Regions from separate parts of the Homo sapiens genome. Here region 1 is linked to region 2. The links are contacts of gene promoters, found by promoter capture Hi-C in human tissues and cell types (Jung and others, 2019). All regions are on one chromosome and are shown on one strand. Each heading gives the region's core, a stretch centred on a gene start or on the middle of the fragment in contact. The rest is flanking DNA. Distances are from core to core; before and after follow the strand shown. Region 1 overlaps TMEM161B-DT (TMEM161B divergent transcript). Region 2 holds the start of TMEM161B (transmembrane protein 161B).

The links. The method cuts DNA at HindIII sites, captures the fragments that hold promoters and counts their contacts. A contact is called where the count stands out against the background at its distance.
Region 1: a contact is called between a fragment that was not itself captured here and the fragment with the promoter of TMEM161B in region 2, in 2 of the 25 tissues and cell types used here (dorsolateral prefrontal cortex and hippocampus).

The regions. Positions count from the first base shown.
Region 1 is chr5:88,420,497-88,425,253 of GRCh38, forward strand. All of the region lies in intron 2 of TMEM161B-DT (TMEM161B divergent transcript), which reads left to right. All of the region lies in intron 5 of LINC02060 (long intergenic non-protein coding RNA 2060), which reads right to left. Among named protein-coding and RNA genes, the nearest start is that of LINC02060, 16 kb to the right of the region's middle. The HindIII fragment of the contact is 5,693 bases long and covers 1-4,140 here.
Region 2 is chr5:88,266,143-88,270,963 of GRCh38, forward strand. It overlaps TMEM161B (transmembrane protein 161B), which reads right to left and starts at 2,703. Exons shown (of 12, transcript NM_153354.5): 1 at 2,579-2,703. The coding sequence starts at 2,581. TMEM161B-DT (TMEM161B divergent transcript) reads left to right here and starts at 2,740. Exons shown (of 3, transcript NR_039995.1): 1 at 2,740-2,885; 2 at 4,384-4,443. RefSeq lists enhancers at 2,490-2,989, 2,680-2,869. The HindIII fragment of the contact is 7,701 bases long and covers 1-4,821 here.

The sequences.
Region 1 (4,757 bases), core at 44-2,543, 150 kb after region 2:
GAGAAACAGAAGACAAGCCTCAGGCTCAGCGTCTTTAGCAGATAACTATGTAGAGCCAGAATTTAATAATACTGTATGGTTTTCATTAAAAATATAATTTTTTGGGTTACCAACTATATGGATGACACTTTTTTAAATGGCAGATGCACAAAGCTTCCTTTTAAAATATGCTTAAAGTTAAAAATAAAAATAGAGTTAGTTTAAAGACAAACATTAAGTGAAAATTAGTGCAGTGAATATAGCAGTGGAAATATTACATAATGGCTGTAGTCAGTGACATGGTAAAAAGCACGAGGCTGCTGTGGTAATGACTATATCTTGGGGAGCTGGCAACCAACTCCCTCACTGGACAGATGTGAAACCCAAATCCCAGAGAGGTCAGAAAATCATAAAATCAGGACTGCTATCCGTAGGCCACCTACCAAATGGATGTTACCACTTTATTTGACAGCTTGAATCATTTTTTCAAAATGGCCTTTTTTCCATCACTTTGTGAACAATATACATTAAGTTTGAAGTTGAAAAACAATAAAACTTGATTTCTTCATCCCCACATTATGACAAGATTGACTTGGCAAGGTTATTGAAGAGGAACTGTTAGAAAAATGAAGCCAGAATTGTGAGACATGACTTAGTGAGAAGGCGAATGGAAAAGAATTCCTTCAATATAAAATTTAACTTTAAATTCAAAGCTAAAGTAGGGTTATTTTCTCTTTTGAGGCTGGTTTGCAAAGGTAAAAGTGGGTTTTGTTTTAAGTTTACAAGTCTCGAATTCTTGAAAACATAGCAAGACAAACTTTGAATCTTTTTTTTAAAAAAAGTACAGGCTTTTACAGAAATGAAAAACTGAAATGCTCCTAGAAAAAGAAAGCTTTAAATTAAGAGGAAATTCTGTGTCTTAAAAATATCATAATTAAATGCAGTTGAGGAAAGAAATCGACAGATTTTTGTGAAATCCTTGTGTTTCTGTGAGGTTTGAGAAGGATGCAGGAGCAACTTCCTCCTACTGTGCAGGGACTCCAACCACACTGATGCTCCAGCCAAGTAAACAAACATTCCGAAGGACAAAGAACAAAATTTCAGAATGACAGAATGGTCACTTCTGAATTAAAATGGACTTTTTAAAGTCAATCTTTAATTGACTTAAAAAATTAAAAACTTGCATATTTGGCTGGGTGTGGTGGTTCACACCTGTAATCCCAGCACTTTGGAAGGCTGAGGTGGGAGGATCGCTTGAGGCCAGAAGTTCAAGACCAGCCTGGGCATCATAATGAGACCCTGTCTCCATAAAACATTTTACTTTTTTTTTTTTTTTTTTGAGATGGAACCTTGCTGTGTCACCCAGGCTGGAGGGCAGTGGTACAATCTTGGCTCACTGCCACCTCCGCCTCCTGGGTTCAAGCTATTCTCCTGGCTCAGCCTCCTGAGTAGCTGGGATTACAGGCATGCACCACCACACCCAGCTAATTTTTGTATTTTTATTAGAGACAGGGTCTCACCATGTTGGTCAAGTTGGTCTCAAACTCCTGACCTCAAGTGATCTGCCCACCTTGGCCTCCCAAAGTGCTGGGATTACAGGCATGAGCCACCGCGTCTGGCCAAAACATTAAAAAAATTTAGCTGAGCATGGTGGCAGACGCCTGTAGTCCCAGATACTCCAGAAGCTGAGGCAGGAGGATCACTTAAGCCCAAGAGATTGAGGCTGCCATGAGCCATAATTGTTCCGCTGCACTCCAGCCTGGGCAATGAAGCGAGATCCTGCCTCAAAAATTAAATTAAATTAAATTAGATTGAAAACTTTTCTCTTATCACCTTGTCTACTTATTATCTATTTATTGAAGCCTGTCTCTTGTTGGAGTGGAGGGAATGAAAAGGTGGGCAGCAAAGTCAAGCTGGTTCATGCATTGATTGGATGTTAAAATCAATGTATATGGAAAGAGGTAAAATAGAGTAAGACATTTAACACATTTTAAAATCCCAGCCAGATGGGAACTAATTTTTTATCCTTTCTCTGCCTCAGTTTTCTTTATTCAAATAATGAGACCAATAGACCTCTGTGTTATTGGGTTATCTAAAGAAATAACTAACAGCAATTAGTGAAGTATAAAACCAAGGGTTGAAATGGGAAATTACACTGCGTATCCTAATGTCTAAATCACTCCCAGGTTGTGAACTAGGGACAGAGAAAAGTTATCACCCTTTCCAACTAACTAATATTGTCTCATCTTGAGGATTTCCATTTTCAGACCCCACCCTCTGGCTCTGACATGTTTATTCCTAATTCTGAGAGCCCAGCTGAATAGTCATTGGAGAAGTTTCAGTCCCTGGGAAATTCCAAGAAATATCATTCCATGCACACCATGGACTCTAGAATGGATATTCTTGGGCATTAGCTCACCAGGAAAGGGAACACTCTGCTGTACTCTGTTAGATTTTCTTGCAAGGATTCATGAGCAGATCTGTTTCGGATGCAGAATGTCTGAGCAGAAACAGAAATGACAATCATTTGAAATTGGGGATCACTTGTAAGCCATTTTCACAAAGGCCTGAAATTCATCTTTACAGTTCCTTGATTCACTCATGAGACTGCCATTCATCTAGTAGCATCATGTCATGTAGCCCAGCCCAGGTGATTTGAGAGTTTGTTTTAAGTGTCCAACCTTTAGAAATGTCTCTCCTGTAATCTCTGAAAAGAGGATGGTGGGGTAGACTAGAGGCAACACTGTTTGTGTGTGGATTCCACAATGCTTCTTTAAGAATCCATGTCAGTGTGAGTTAATTTGATTTATGTAACCCACAAATTATTTTTAGGACTTTGCCCAGGGTCAACTGCTTTATGTGTATTGCAAATCTCCCTTGTTTCATCAGGGAGGAATCTGACACAAAGAGCTATTTACTTATTTATCAACACAAAGTCACACATAGTTGTGTCATAATTGGAATACACCCTGATACTCAGCCTCCCATTTGGATGTTTCTTTTTCTTTTCATTTATTATTATTATTATTATTATTATTATTATTATTATCATCATCATCATCATTATTATTATTTTGGGACAGGATCTCACTCTACCACCCAGGTTGGAGTGCAGTGTCTCCATCTCAGCTCACTGCAGCCTCAACCTTCCAGGGCTCAGGTGATCCTCCCACTTCAGCCTCCCAAGTGGCTGGGACTACAGACATACACAACACACCTGGCTAATTTTTGTAGAGATGGGGTTTCACCACATTGCCCAGGCTGGTCTCAAACTCCTAGGCTCAAGCCATCCATCCGCCTTGGCCTCCCGAAGTGTTAGGATTACATCTGCGTCCAACCAGATGTTTCTTTTGCAATGTAATTCCCAGTAGCATTCTCTATCTCAGCTTTTACCCTATCTGACTGAGATCAGGAAGGACTGTTATTTCAGGTCTGCCTATCCTGGTCATTTATGAAGGGTATTACAATGGTCACATTTTACAGAAAAGGAAACAGTCTTAAGGAGAGGAAAGAATATACCCTAGTTGATGGAAGAAAAGCCAACTAAGTTAGCCATAAAGGTATTCATTCCTTTTGGTTAAAAAAAAAAAGTCATTTATCTTTGCTTCCAGAATTTCAGACCCAATGATCTCCCATCTTTCATGTCATCCTCTATAACTGGCTTCCTGCTTAGTTCTCCTACTCATCAAGTATGGGTTCACATTATTAGGCTTAATTAAAATCACTTGGCAGATTTTTCCATATTGTCAATAGCACACATACCTCTGCTCTTTAACCAATCACAGAAGAATTTTCTTATTCTCTATTATCCTTTAGGTACTTAAAAAGAGCTTTAAATAATGTTCAAAGGAAGCCTCTATCAATTGCAACTTGAATAATTCATTTGTAAAAAAATTAAAAATTTGTAGTGAGATATTATAAATGGAAAATGTTATTGGATCCTTTGTTTCAGAATATTTGCTTGAGGAAATGACCAAAAACTTAAAATCTGTTATAACATTGACCCCTTAGAGACATAATAAACATGGAAAGAGTGAAGAGTGTGGAATTGTTTAAAACCTGGTTTTGTCAAGGTAGATAACTTTACGTTGTGTATATTTTTCTCTTCCTTATTAATGGTACAAGCAGATAATTATGTTGAATGTTAAATGGCTCCAGGACAATGAGAATTAAATTGGCCTTAATAATAATGTGTTTGATTTTTGCCCACTCTGACAATATAAGGACATGCCCTCCCTGGGAAAGTTCAAATGAGAAAATTGTCTATCTTCTATTCCTTCCTAAATAGTGGCTCCTTTAATAATAATAATGAATATCAAATTTTAAGATGGCTTCCTCTACCATGACTTCAGTTTATATTCTGCTTTAGGGAGAAGTTGAAATCTCTGGGAGATGGTTGCACTCATTAACTATTTACATTTAGCATATATTTGCTGAGTACCTGACATGTACTAATCAGATACTCTACTAAATGTTAGGGACAGGCAAATGAGTAAGACACAGGCCTTGGACTTGGACCAAGGAGAAATATGTTAAGAAAAATTAATCAAAGCACATGTTTTAGTGAAGAAGTTAGGAAAGATTTCATGGAAGAGACCATATTGGATATGGTCCCAGAAGACTGAGTTGCCGTTTATTGCTTGAAAGAGGGAAGAATTATGGAGAAGGGCAGAAGTAAGAAAGTTGGACATTTTAAGTTCAGGAGGTAAATATCTCAAAGTATTTCAAGATAAATGACAACTGGTCTTAGAGTTTTACAAAATTTGAAGCCAAAGTTC
Region 2 (4,821 bases), core at 1,453-3,952:
AAAAACCTTGTTATAGGCACAGGTATCTATTGAGTATCGGTATACATAATGTATGAGAGAATGAGAGCACAGAATTAGTTTATCATTGATTAAAACAAGAATTAAATCAAAACATTCCAAGAGTTGTGTTCCATTCTGGAGCAGTATTTAAGACAGTAGTGAAAGACTTGGCCAAATATACAAAGATTCCAAGTACTATCTATGTGACTTATGAAAAAAATGAAAAAGAGAATGATAAAAGAAATCAAACTTAAGCCAAAATGGCATGGAAACAAAACAGTGGAAATCAGACTAACTTTTATTTAATCTGAAACATGTAACTATCCTCAAAAATGTTGAGTAGTCATGGAATCATAAATTTAAGAAGGTGCTTTAATACCCATCAAGTCCCACTTCTCTTACCCAGGAGGAATTTGGAACTCTTATCAAAATTGAGTGACTTTTCCAAATCCATATAACTAACAATGGGCAGAATCTGGGTCCTCTGGGGTCAATACTAATGTTCTTTTCATAATATCATTAGGCCCCAGCAATGCAAAACAAGTTCTGATTTCAACAAGCTGAATCCTCAATAAATTCAGCCCATGTTCACTTCATTTAATGGTTAAACTCTTCCCTTTGAAAAATTCCAAGCATTAACCACACTTGCATATACAGACATTATCAATTTCATAGCTGGGAAAGATAAAACTCAGCCAAGATAATTAGCTCAGAAATATAAGCACTTCCAGAAGGAAAAGAGCCAACTAGTTAGTTCCAAAATGACATTCAGAAAAACAGCATAAGATTACATTAGTTCCAAACATTAACCATCTCTTTTGAACCGACAGGATAAGCAGGATTCTACTTCTAGTATTCCAAAACACTGAGAACAAGTTCATGTTCAGCTTTTCTGTGACTATGATGAACTTAAGTATTTTAATTATACTTTACCTTCAACTTTTCAGACCAAAAAGTCAAAAATTAATCTTAAATTTAAAAAATGAAAATATGAGTTTTAGTCCAGACTGCCAAACTACTGTTACTTTAGAAAAATCACTGTCAATTTCTAGACCCCAGATTCTTTCTTCTGTAAAAATGGGGATGGAAGAGTGATTACTAGGCTTTGGTTTCTCCCAGTTCTGTTTTCCCTATCCTTGTCTAATTTCACTGATACAAAAGAAAAACAACTTTCTTAATACAAACCATATTATTCACTGAGGCTTAAAAAAAAAAACTTTAAAGAGATAGGTTATCTGGTAAAGTGCACCAGGAACTACATTATTTTGAAGGTCTTTGTTCTACATTCAGCTAAGTTTCTAAAAGTCATTCAAAAGCCAATCACCACACACATTAACTGAATGTTGGCAATATTTGGCCCTGAAAATATAAGACAAACTGAAGCTAAATTCCAGGACAGAAGCCTCTGCAAGTGAGGGTTTGAAATCTTGTATACGGTGAAGAAACTGACAATAATGAACTTCACCAGAGCCCCGTGATCTTGAAAAACAGCAAAGGTTAAGAAACCCCTTGCCCCCGTTTGTGTTCTGAGAAATTGGCTTACTGCAAAGAATCATCTTTCCTGTAGAACTTAGATAAGACTAAGGGTTGATCCATACCCCCCTACCCCTTGTTTACCTATAACAAGGCCATAACTAGACCCTTCTAATTCCCATCCTTTGCTTCGTAAATGACTTGCTGAAGTACCTGTCCCACAGATCAATCGGAACAAAATACTTATTAACCAAACTTTAAGATTCTCTTCTCTCGGGTACCTGAATTTTGTCCTTCCCTCAGTCTGAAACAACATATACAAACCTCTCCTAACAGCTCCTCCTCAGAATACATGGGCTCAGGGTAAAACATTATCTGGTTACTGCCGGATCATACCCATATTTTCATCCCAATTCCTGACATCTTATTTACCCCTACCAACAAAAGACAAACCCTTTCTGCCTAACCTTTAAGGTGCATGCAAATCTTACGGTCATTCTCCCTACTGCAACAGTTCCTTCAACCTTCCTCCACACCCCTGCAATATTCCTTTCGAATAAAGTCTGTCCTTACTAAACTCGGGTTTTTTATTTGACACCCTTTTCAATTATGAAATGGCTAAGTGTAAAGAATAAGGGGACTACCGTTTCTTTAAATGACAGGTGTTGATCTTATACAAGGAGACCCGTTGTGTCCACCTGGAGAGGCTAAAAGCATTTCTAAGATCTGAAGTTCTTGGCCACTGTTCCGCGGATGGAGAAGGGGGCGCAGAAGAGGTGACTGACCCGGCAAGGTCAACTCTGGGATCACCTGGCGCCACAGGCCATACACAGTAAATGGGCCATGAACAGGCAGGCTACCCAGTCCATACTCCCTGACAGATACGCCCCTGCCTCCGGCCCGCTAGTCTCCCAGACAGGTAGGCGTAATGCTGCTTCCTCAGGGGCTCAGACACCCTGAGATAGGTGGTGGGTCCTACCCAGCAGCTCATCCCAACGTCTCAACTCCATTCTGAGCAGAGCACCTGATGGCTCTTTTCACAGTACTGACCTCCCCGCCCTTTTCGCCCCACCGTTGTCACTCCTGCCCTCACAGAAGAACTCACCATGGCGCCTAGGATAGGTCGTGGACCAGACACCCTGGAGTTGCCGGGGCAGTCCCAAACCTCTTACCTCCCGGTCCTTGAGCCGAGAGACTCTCAAACAGCGAAAGAGAGGGTCTTCCGGCTCTGCCGGAAGTTGTGCGCGCGCGGGACAGGAAGTTCCTCCCTTCTCCAGAGCGCCGTCGACCCCACGCCACGCAGAGGTGAAGATACGCAGGACGTCCTCTAAAGCAACTTCCGTGGGTGCCAGGTTGTGGGCTGGGGGCGGTGCTGACCTTGAGAGAGCGGAGGAGGCGCAGGCGCAGCACAGGTACGTGGGCGGGCGGATCGTGGTGGCTGCGCTTGCGAGGACCCTGAGGTAGATTGGGTGGTTTCAACAGGAACGCATCCACTGTCTGAGAGGTGACGGAGGCACACGTTGGTGTGGGGAGCGGGAGGGGAGAGGGAGGGGGGCGGGTGGGGGGCGGGAGGGGGCCAGGGGTGGGAGTGAGGGTGCGCGATGGGAGTCGACTCCAGACCCAGGTGATTTAGAGAGAGTAAAGACCACCTTTGGCCGTCATTTTGTCTCAGCTTAACTGACGCCCTCTTGTTACCCTCTAGTTTTCCTGACTCGGTCCCTTATTAGCATATCCTCATTTCCACAGACCTGTCCGTCTGTTGCTTCTGTTCCCTGCCTTAGTGGGTACCGTAGCTCTACCCTCCTTCCGGGCAATGGAATCTCATAGTGAGAAGTTTCTTCACTATTCACAGGTGGCAATTGAAGCCGGAAGAACATCTACCAAGAGCAGAGAACCCAGGAAGAAAATTCTGCCTCTTTAATACGTTCCAATATGGACGTTTTCCATATAGATACCTATCTATATAGATAGATGCTCTGGGATCTGACGGTCCTGGACACCTGTATGGCTGTGTGCTGTGGTCTTTGCCTAGCCTGCGGTTCACTTTTGCTCTGGCCACCACCTCCCCTCATGTACAAACCGCGTCTCTGCTCTGCCAGTCTTGGCCCCCGTCAGGCAGCGGTTCACTCCCTCACCAGGGAAGTCTAGATAGATAGATATAGATAGATATCGATCGATAGATATAGATATATATATAGATAGATAGATAGGTAGATATATGGATAGATATAGATATTTGGATAGATATGTAGACGTCTATCTATAAATATATCGATATATCGGGGTTCTCAGCCATCCCAAAGAAGCTTGCACAGGGCCAGTTGCTTTATGTCAGGAAAAGGGACACAGACTGAGTGTATGAGGGTTTTTTTTTTCTATAGATGTATAGATATTTATATCAGATGCAAATAAGTGAAACTCTCATACAACTTTTAATTTTGTGTTTTTTCCAAACTCTATTCCATTCAACTTTTTCTGCCTTTTTATTTGATTATAATGAGACATCGTACTGGAGGCAGGCTTGAAATGGATATACAGAGCACTTTCAACCCAGAAATTTGTCTCACGACTTGGGGTCCTTACTTAAGTTGTAGCTGTTAGTAATTTCATCCATGAATTCACTTTGTGCCATAGTGTGATGTTTTGTTATGAAGTTGGAATTGGGAAGGGAAACTAGGAAGTTTTGGGAGAAGTTAAGAAGGTTGAGTAGGCAGGCGTTGTTATAGATATTAAATTTCACCCTGCTTATCAAAGTACCTGGAGCGTATGGTATCCAAGCTGTAAATGGCCCAAAGGAATCGGGGTTCTCAGCCATCCAAAAGAAGCATGCACAGGGCCAGTTATTTTATGTCAGGAAAGGGGACACAGACTGAGTGTATGAGGGTTTTTTTTTTTGTTTTTTTTTTTTAGTTTAAACTTGATTTTGTGAGGGGACGAACAGCGTGACAATTAAAAGAAGATCTGGGAATCGTAAGTACTGACAGAATACCTGGAGGGAAGGTGGGACTGGAGAATAGTTTGTGAAACAGATCCTGCTGAGGATGAATCCAGAACTTCCTGAAGGGTTCCGCTTCTGCTGTGTAGGGACAAGGTTGTAAATAGACAAGCCACAGGCACCTGCAAATGGTAAGTGTGGTAGAGAGGGGCTGGAATTGCCTGTTGGTGTATCTGTGGGAAGCAGCTGCTATCCTTGAGGAAGAAAAGATGGAGAAGGTAAGTGGCTATCAACCTGTCAGAGACAACACATTCTGTGAAGTTGTACTCTTTCATTTCTGACACTGTGGTTCTTAATATCTGTCCTAAACCTGGCAGTCATTGAGGTTCGCAAAGTATCTCCTTCTATGTGAC